2 separate regions of the Homo sapiens genome follow, and region 1 is linked to region 2. The links are contacts of gene promoters, found by promoter capture Hi-C in human tissues and cell types (Jung and others, 2019). All regions are on one chromosome and are shown on one strand. The core of a region is centred on a gene start or on the middle of the fragment in contact, and the rest is flanking DNA. Distances in the headings are between cores, read along the strand shown. Region 1 overlaps MICAL3 (microtubule associated monooxygenase, calponin and LIM domain containing 3). Region 2 holds the start of USP18 (ubiquitin specific peptidase 18).

Region 1 (4,628 bases), core at 1,455-3,954, 190 kb after region 2:
CAGGGAGCCACAGCCGCGCTCAGCCTGGAGGGAAGATGCCTTCCGGGAACTGTGGTGCTGCTTTCTGTGCACACCTTCTCTTCCTGTGTCCCCATGAGGCTGAGAGAGAAGCCTCCTTTTGCTCATCAGTTTATCCACAGACGTTAAGTGCTCTTTGCTTACAGAGTGCACTCCTAGGCATTGGGATGCCATTGAGTCTTGAAGGTAGGGAAGGTATCATGAGCTTTTCGTCCATGTCAAATGAGTTCAGTTCCTTCAGCCTTGCCTTATAAGGTCTGTCTTCCATCCAGTTAATTTTTTTTTTCTGTACCCTTTCCATGTTTTTCCCCCCTTTATTTGCCTTTATTTTTCTGTCCCAGAAGGATTCTGTTCTTATGGGCAGGGAGAGCTATCTATTTCCCTAACCTACTTAATTCTTTACTAACAAAAACAGTCCTGACCCACTCAACCCCACCATTTTCCACACGTAGGCAGTCATCTTTGTAAACCTCCACTGGTGCTGGCTGCGTTTAGAACATACTCCATATAAAACAGGCCCTGAGGTGTGGTGGCTCATGCCTGTAATCCCAGCACTTTGGGAGGCTAAGGCAGGCAGATCACCTGAGGTCAGGAGTTTGAGACCAGCCTGGCCAACATGGTGAAACCGTGTCTCTACTAAAAATACAAAAATTAGCCGGGCCTGGTGGCAGGTGCCTGTAATCCCAGCTACTCGGGAGGCTGAGGCAGGAGAATCGCTTGAACCTGTGGGTCAGAGGTTGCAGTGAACCAAGATTGCGCCACTGCACTCCAGCCTGGGTGACAGAGCGAGACTCTGTTTCAAAAAAACCCAGGCCGATGGCTGGGCACGGTGGCTCACACCTGTAATCCCAGCACTTTGGGAGCCTGAGGTGGGTGGATCACAAGGTCAGGAGATCGAGACCATCCTGGCTAACACAGTGAAACCCCATCTCTACTAAAAATGCAAAAAATTAGCCGGGCGTGGTGGTGGGCGCCTGCAGTCTCAGCTACTCGGGAGGCTGAGGCAGGAGAATGGCGTGAACCCGGGAGGCGGAGCTTGTAGTGAGCCGAGATTGCGCCACTGCACTTCAGCCTGGGCAACAGAGCGAGACTCCATCTCAAAAAAAAAAAAAAAAAAAAAAACCCCAGGCCCGGCGCAGTGGCTTATGCCTGTAATCCCAGCACTTTGCGAGGCCGAGGCGAGCAGATCACCTGAGGTCAGGACTTCAAGACCAGCTTGGCCAACATGATGAAACCCTGTCTTTACTAAAAATACAAAAAAATTAGCTGGGTGTGGTGGCGGACGCCTCTAATCTCAGCTACTCAGGAGGCTGAGGCAGGTGAATCACCTGAACCCGGGAGGTGGAGGTTGCAGTGAGCTGAGATCACGCCATTGCACTCTGGCCTGGGCAACAAGAGCGAAACTCTGTCTCAAAAGAAAAAAAAAATAAAAAAACCCAACAACTCAAAAACAACAGGCCCTGAGACCAGGCTGCCCTGCTTCAGCCCACTTCTTGTGGTCAGTTCTGGCCCTGCTGGCTACTGTGTGTTGGTGCTATGGTCCACTCCATGGGCGGATGATTCAGCTTGCCCTGTCGAGGGCTCCCTCTGGTTTTTGGGGTAGGGGAGCCAGTTTTCTAGCTTTAACGGGGGATGAGGGTGAGGATGGGGTGCAGCTGAGGCCCAAGGCCGATGCAGGAGACACCTTAGCAGGAAGGCAGAGCTGAGCTGTGACCCCACTGTCTTTTCTTTCTTCCGTAACTGCCTCTGGCCATCTGCCATCATCATCAGTGTGTGGAGTGCGTTCAACTCAGTCTCTCTGACGGTTTTTAGGGAACAGAACACAAATAACAACGTGGCCTGAGGACCCAAAGTGGCCCTAGCAAGGGTGAGTATTGGCCAATGAGGTAATGGACAGAGGAATTGGAGATTTGTTGAGTTCTGTATAGGGAGGATTTTTCTGCAGGAGGTAGTAGAAGATAAGCTATCCAAAAAGTGTCATAGGTTAATTGTAATGGGGTCCACGTTATTTTAATTGTTGAGAAAAATCTACAGGTTTATATCATCTGGGGTCCACTAAAGAGATCGTGTTATGCCAACTCATTGGGTCAGTTTTTCCTAAGATTTCAGTTATGGGTAATGTGGAATTTTTAGGTTTTTTGGGATGAATCTTCCTTGGTCTAACTCCACGAGGAAAGCTCTGCTCTTTTCTCAGTAGCAGGGCTTGCCGCTTAAGAAACTCCAGCCACCACAGCTGTCTTCCATATGCAGGCACCATTTGACAGGCTGCCGTGGTGGGATCTCTCCAGGCTCCCTGTGACTGTACCATTTCATCTTCTTCAGAGCTTCTCTTAGTAAAGAAAGAAAGTTTCTTTCTTTCGTTCTTTCATTCTCTCTCTCTCTCTCTCTCGTTTTCTTTCTCTCTCTTTTTTTTTTTTTTTTTTTGACATAGTTTCACTCTTGTCGCCCAGGTTGGAGTGCAGTGGCTTGATCTCAGCTCACTGCAACCTCTGCTTCCTGGTTCAAGCGATTCTCCTGCCTCAGCCTCCTGAGTAGCTGGGATTACAGGCGCACGCGACCATGCCCAGCTAATGTTTTGTATTTTTAGTAGAGATGGGATTTTGCCATGTTGCCCAGACTGGTCTAGAATTCCTGGCCTCAAGTGATCCTCCCTCCCAAAGTGCTGGGATTATAGGCGTGAGCCATCGAGCCCAGGCTCTCAGTAAAGAAGGCTTTCTATTCACATTTTTGTATCAGATGAGATTAGTTTCAGTCGGAAATTGCAAAATGTGGCTTAGCATGAAAGAAGATTTTCTTTTTATGTAAAAGGACCCTAGAGATGGGAAGCCCAGAGCCAGTGTAGCCAGCTGCATGGCCATCAGGATTTTGTCTCGTTCCTTCTACCTGGACTTGCCAGCTAAAGCCTGGTGATTGTGTGGCCCACTCTATGGATTGACAGGTGAGAGTTCAATTTGACCTAACTCCACTACCCTGGCACGTAGCTTTCTCATCCTTAAGGTTACCTCATAACAAAGCATGGCTGCCGGAGCTCCAGCCATCTTTCTTTTCTTTCTGGGTAGAACACCAAAGGGAGGAAATGTAAAGAAAGGCAAAATGTTTTTCTATGTGAGAGACTCCTTTAAAGGAGTCTTTCAGGAAGACCCACACACTTCTGCTTATATCTCATTAACCAGAACCTGGAAAACATGGTCACAGCTAGCTTCAAGGAAGTTTGAGAAATGCGGTTTTGTAAGTGAGTGCATCACTGGCTCTAGTAAGATTGGGGTACTGTTACTAAGAAGGAAATCTTTCTCCAGTTGGTGTCTGACTTCGTCTCTGTAGTGTCTCTCACGTGAGCACCTTCTGCTTCATGTGAGTCCACTTCTTCCTGCCCTGTATGCACGTAAGCAGTCCTCCCTCCAGACACAGGCTGGCTGTCCTCGCAGCTCTCCTTTGCTCTTCTTTTCTCGGAGCTAAGTCGTAGTCGCAGTGCAGGAGTCGGCTGTGCCCAGGCTGGAGTGCAATGGCGTGATCTTGGCTCACGGCAACCTCTGCCTCCCAGGTTCAAGCAATTCTCCTGCCTCAGCCTCCCAAGTAGCTGGGACTACAGGCATGCACCACCACACCTGGCTAATTTTGTATTTTTAGTAGAGACGGGGTTTCTCCATGTTTGTCAGGCTGATCTCGAACTCCTGACCTCAGGAGGCCCGCCTCGGCCTCCCAAAGTGCGGGGATTATAGCCGTGAGCCACCATGCCCGGCCGGTAGTGCATGGATTTCTGTAGGTACCATAGCAGTGTCAGTGCAAAGCTTGGCATACCTGGGAGGTTGCTGCCTCTGTGTTTCTGGGCTCTTCTCCCCATCCCCTTTCTGCAACTGTCTGTTTGGAAGTTGTGATCTTGACATGTGGCCCTTCTAGCCCCATGGCTTAGCACTGTGGGGCCCCGGAGGAGTGGGCTCTGGATGAGCATGCAGCACCCTTGAACATGTTGGATTCAGCCAGTGTGGATGTCGGCATGAGACGCTGACACAGGCATGTGTGTGCCCTCTGCAGCTCCCTTCTGCAGCTGCCTCTCCTATAAGACCAGGAATTTCAGAGGACACTCTCTCAGGAGCCCCTCTTCCTGGACATTTTCTTCCCTTGTGCTCATAAACATTCATAAACACCGTTTAATGGTCGAAGATTTTGGTTTATGACTAAAAATCTGAAATTCCTAAAATCTCTGTGGATTCAAGTCCTTAGGAAAGCTGGAGCAAACATGCAGCTGAGTGGGGAGTCGGAGATCTCTCAGATCTTTTCCCGGTCCAATCCTCAGCAGTTCTGTGATGCTGGCTGGGGCTTCTCAGGCATGAGATCTATTTCCACCTCCCACTCTAGGCTGGAAGTTGTCCAGGAAATTGTCACTGACATATTGAGGTGCATAGCAAATGCAGCTGGTAGAAGAAATGTGGGGTTCATCTTAGAAAATGCTGCTCCAAGGATCGGCTTGAGAAAGTGTTAATTTGTAAGAATTAAATGAGGATATTATGGGATGTTGGAAGGTGGGAATAAGTGTGTGAGTGAGTGTAGGCATCTCTTGGCTTTTCAGTGGTTCTCAGCCAGGGCTCTCTCTGGATGCAGTCTGCTTCCCC
Region 2 (4,372 bases), core at 955-3,454:
CCACTAAAGAAGCCCCAGGACCAATCGGGGTCCTCAGAGAAGCCCCAGAAGAGCCAGGAACAAGCTGCAGAAAACCTGGGGAGGGTGGGGCCTCCACCCAATACTCCACTCACAACTGGACTCTCTGCCAGGAAAGCCAACTCCAACATTTAGATGCCCTAAAAGGAACAAAATTAACCTGCCAGGAACATGATTCAAGCAGCCTCGGTGTCTTCCGACCCACCCCATCATGGCAACCACAATTGTAGACCGCAGTCTCGATGACGTGTTCACATTATTTTGCATTTCTTTTTTCTTTTTTTATTTTTATTTTTATTTTTGAGACGGAGTCTCCCTCTGTCGCCCAGGCTGGAGTGCAGTGGCCGGATCTTGGCTCACTGCAAGCTCCGCCTCCCAGGTTCACGCCATTCTCCTGCCTCAGCCTCCCGAGTAGTTGGGACTACAGGCGCCTGCCGCCACGCCCAGCTAATATTTTTTATTTTTAGTAGATGGGTTTGCACCGTGTTAGCTAGGATGGTCTTGATCTCCTGACCTCGTGATCCACCTGCCTCGGCCTCCCAAATTGCTGGGATTACAGGCGTGAGCCACCGCGCCCGGCCTATTTTGCATTTCTTGAGTAATCGTAATATGCGGGTTAGAACACACGGATTACAACACTTTGGATGAAAAACCACATAATAGGGAAATTTTGGGACTACTCTCTCTCAAAAAAAAAAACAGCTCGTGGAAAAACTAGGACTTACCTTCTTTGAAACTATGTTTATGTTAAGCATTTTCCCCTTTGTAAGCTCATCATTGTGTAAAAGTGTCAGAACTGTGCAACACATTTTTTAACAGTCCAAAAGCAAGTTCTTTGATAAATCAATATGAAGCCGTGCACCTGTGTTACTCTCCCTCCCGTTTTGTTCCTGCGAACACATCGGTAACCTGCATTCACTCTCCATCCAACTCTGTTCAATACCAGAAAGAAACTTCAGATGAAATGCTTTTCAGTATTTGCCTTGTTTTCTGGAACAACTTTAAAGTACAAATTATACCTAAATAAGTACAAATTAAAGCCTCTGCTTTAATTTTCAAACACTTTGAACCCAGATTTTCAGGGGTCTCAAAATGGAGTTTTGTGTTTAAAAGTCTAAATTTAGCTTTCTTCCAAGGAAAAGGGTGTGAAGAAGAGAGGTTAAGACTAAAATACTCTGATTTGCAGAGTTTGACAACATCCTTCCAATTTCTCAATATGAATGCCCACTGACCCAGCCATTCCACTTCTAGGAATTTTCCACCGATATATTTGTATGAATGTATACATAAAATTATATTCATTGCCGTATCTGTGCCAGTAAAAACTGGAAACAACCTAAATCTCCATGCATTGTTTAAACAATGTACTTCCCATACCATGTATCAGGTTTTTTTGTTTGTTTGTTTGAGACAGTTTCGCTCTGTCGCCCAGGCTGGAGTGCAACGGTGCGATCTCGGCTCACCGCAACCTCCGCTCCCGGGTTCAAGCGATTCTCCTGCCTCAGCCTCCCGAGTAGCTGGGATTACAGGCATGCGCCACCACGCCAGGCTAATTTTGTATTTTTAGTAGAGACGGGGTTTCTCCATGTCTGTAACTCCTGACCTCAGGTGATCCTCCCTCCTCGATCTCCCAAAGTGCTGGGATTACAGGCGTGAGCCACCGTACCCGGCCGAATCAGTTTTTTGTTTTATTTTTAATGCCATTAACACATCTATATGTCCTGCCATGAAAAGATGTCCATAATATACTCAGTGGACAAAGCAAGTTCGAAATGATTTTAAAGACTTGTACATAGAAACATTTCTGATAAGGTACAAACAAAAATGATACTGAGTGGAAGACTGCGAGACACATTTGTCTGCATTGTTTGAATTTTTTTACAAGCTTACAACACTTCTGCAATTTCTTTTTTTGTTTTAATTAAACACAAAGTCATGTCAAAAGTCCAAATAACTATATTAGCTTAGAAAAAAATTCACTGGCCCAAAATATATGCACGTAGTAAATACAGATCACTATCATAATTTGCAGAGCACAATTATTACTTAATTCCTTAATTATCTGACTGGCATAGGAGCAGAGTTGGATGTCTGTGCTAGAAAGAAAACTTCCAAAATGAGCCCCGAACTTGCCTCAAGCGCCATGCAAGCGTCCAGCCTCCGCTGCTGAGTTCCACGTCGGGACTGAGCCGGGGACCGAGCTGGGACCGAAGTTCCGCTCCGGGCCCGCCTTGGTCTGGCCCCGCGCTCGTGGCACCCCGCCCAGCTTTCGTTTTCCACTGAATGGAAAGCGAAACTTACAGCGGCCTCCGCGCCGGGAGCTGGGCGCCAGCGTGCGGGGAAACCCTGCCGGCCCGAGCTTCCCGCGGCTGCCGTTGCAGCCGCGCACCTGCTCCAGACTTCCAGCCCTCGCTTTTTTTTTTTTTTTTTTTTTTTGAGACGGAGTCTCATTCTGTCGTCCAGGCTGGAGTGCGGTTGCGCTGTCTCGGTTCACTGCAAACTCCGCCTCCTGGGTTCAAGCGATTCTCCTGCCTCAGGCTCCGGAGTAGCTGGGATTACAGGCATGCGCCACCACTCCTGGCTAATTTTTGTATTTTAGTAGCGATGGGGTTCCGCCATGCTGGCCAGGCTGGTCTCAGGTGATCCGCCCGCCTCCTAAAGTGCTGGGATTACAGGTGTGGGCCACCGCGCCCGACCTACAGGCGCCTTTTTATTTGCGATTTTAAGGTCCTTGCAATTAGCCTACGTGTTAGAGTCATTTGGCGTTTGGTAGTATCCATGGCAGCATTTTTTCTTTCTTAATGCTATTGTATTTCTTGGATCGGGTGTCTTCACATCACCGGCCTGTGGCTTGGATGCGGCACATGGTGTAATTAGGAGCTCCCCTGTGGGCATGCAGATACAGATATTTCTCCACTTAAGAAGGGGTCAGGGGGCGCGGTGGCTCACACCTGTAATCCCAGCACTTTGGGATGCTGAGGCAGGCGGATCACCTGAGGTCAGGAGTTCGAGACCAGCCTGACCAACATAGTGAAACCCCATCTCTACTAAAAGTACAAAAATTAGCTCGGCGTGGTGGCGCTTAATCCCAGCTACTTAAGAGGCTGAGGCAGGAGAATAACTTGAACCCAAGAAGCGGAGGTTGCAGTGAGCAGAGATCGACAAGAGCAAGACTCCGTCTAAAAAAAAAAAAAAAAAATGGGGTCAAGTCCCAGTGAACCCATCATGAAGTCGAAACATCGTAAGTGAAACCACGGTAAGTGATGGACCATCTGTGTATATATAAGGTTAAGAGATCTGTAACATGCACACCGGAAAGGCTTATTACCTCTTTAGAGATGTATTTCTTGTATGTAGACTCATGGGGGTAGGGGCAGAAGGGTTATCTGCTAGGGGCCTCAAACTCCAGCCGCTGGAATTTGCGCAGGAAAGCAGGGTACAATTCCCCCAAAGCGATCATTCTTTCTGAAAGCCGTCCCCGCAGCAACAGACAAATAGCCTCCAAAAACCCAAAGCTGCCAGAACCTCACTGAAGCGTTGGTAGGGTCTGCAGTAAGGTACAAAATACCATGGCATGAAGATGTATAAACGTGTCCATAATAGGGTGGATGTGTGTTAGAAGCATGAGCACAGATATACACATACAGGCTATCCACACGTCCATCGTCAGCCCAGACTCCGCTTACATTGCTGCTGGAACGGAGGCAGTGTCGCCCACAGTGCAGCATGTTCTCCCTGGAAGGCTGGTGGACTTTGCGCAGTATGGTGTTTACACAGGTACACGGTGGTGGGCGCAGGGTCCGTCCTCATTATATTTGCTGACCAATCAGTTATATAACCAGCTTCATACATCTGGTAAGTCTTGTCCACAAACAGGAACCTCAAAAACTCAAGTGAGGGCAATGAGGAGAGGAGGTTGCAAAATTTGATAAAATATGCTAAATACAGCAAGTCAGTAGAAGGCTAAGGAGCAAGCTGCAGTTGCTTGCAGCAACTATCAGCAGAAAACTATTAATAGTCAATCCAATGATTCTATCTGAATCTTGGTAGGTCGGTGGAGCAAAGTAATTGGTGTTGCTGCCCCAGTGCAGAATGGACAAGGGTGAACCTTGGGTTGGAGGCTGGACTATATAATGTAAGGATCCATTACACTTCTATGGGGCTCTTCCTTCCGTCCTTCATGGTACCCTCCTGAACAATTCCGTGCTAAGGCCATCAGGTGTGTCAAGCAAAGTGGGCGTTTGTGTAGTATGTTCCACAGTGGCCCAAGCAGGGTGCTGGACTGGAGCAGGTTGAGGAGGGTGGCAGCACAGTGGGGCTGCCCAGCACAATGTCAGACACAAATGGGTGCTGG

The links. Contacts are between HindIII fragments. The study calls those that stand out against the background at their distance.
Region 1: a fragment that was not itself captured here is called in contact with the fragment with the promoter of USP18 in region 2 in 6 of the 25 tissues and cell types used here (dorsolateral prefrontal cortex, heart left ventricle, hippocampus and 3 more).

What each region holds. Positions count from the first base shown.
Region 1 is chr22:17,955,523-17,960,150 of GRCh38, reverse strand. The region is part of intron 1 of MICAL3 (microtubule associated monooxygenase, calponin and LIM domain containing 3); the gene reads left to right. Among named protein-coding and RNA genes, the nearest start is that of MIR648, 23 kb to the left of the region's middle. RefSeq lists enhancers at 3,269-3,768, 3,769-4,270. The HindIII fragment of the contact is 9,939 bases long and covers 1-4,628 here.
Region 2 is chr22:18,148,002-18,152,373 of GRCh38, reverse strand. USP18 (ubiquitin specific peptidase 18) reads right to left here and starts at 2,204. Exons shown (of 11, transcript NM_017414.4): 1 at 2,152-2,204. It overlaps LOC124905076 (a long non-coding RNA gene), which reads left to right and starts at 3,160. Exons shown (of 2, transcript XR_007067999.1): 1 at 3,160-3,274. RefSeq lists an enhancer at 2,144-2,463. The HindIII fragment of the contact is 12,042 bases long and covers 931-4,372 here.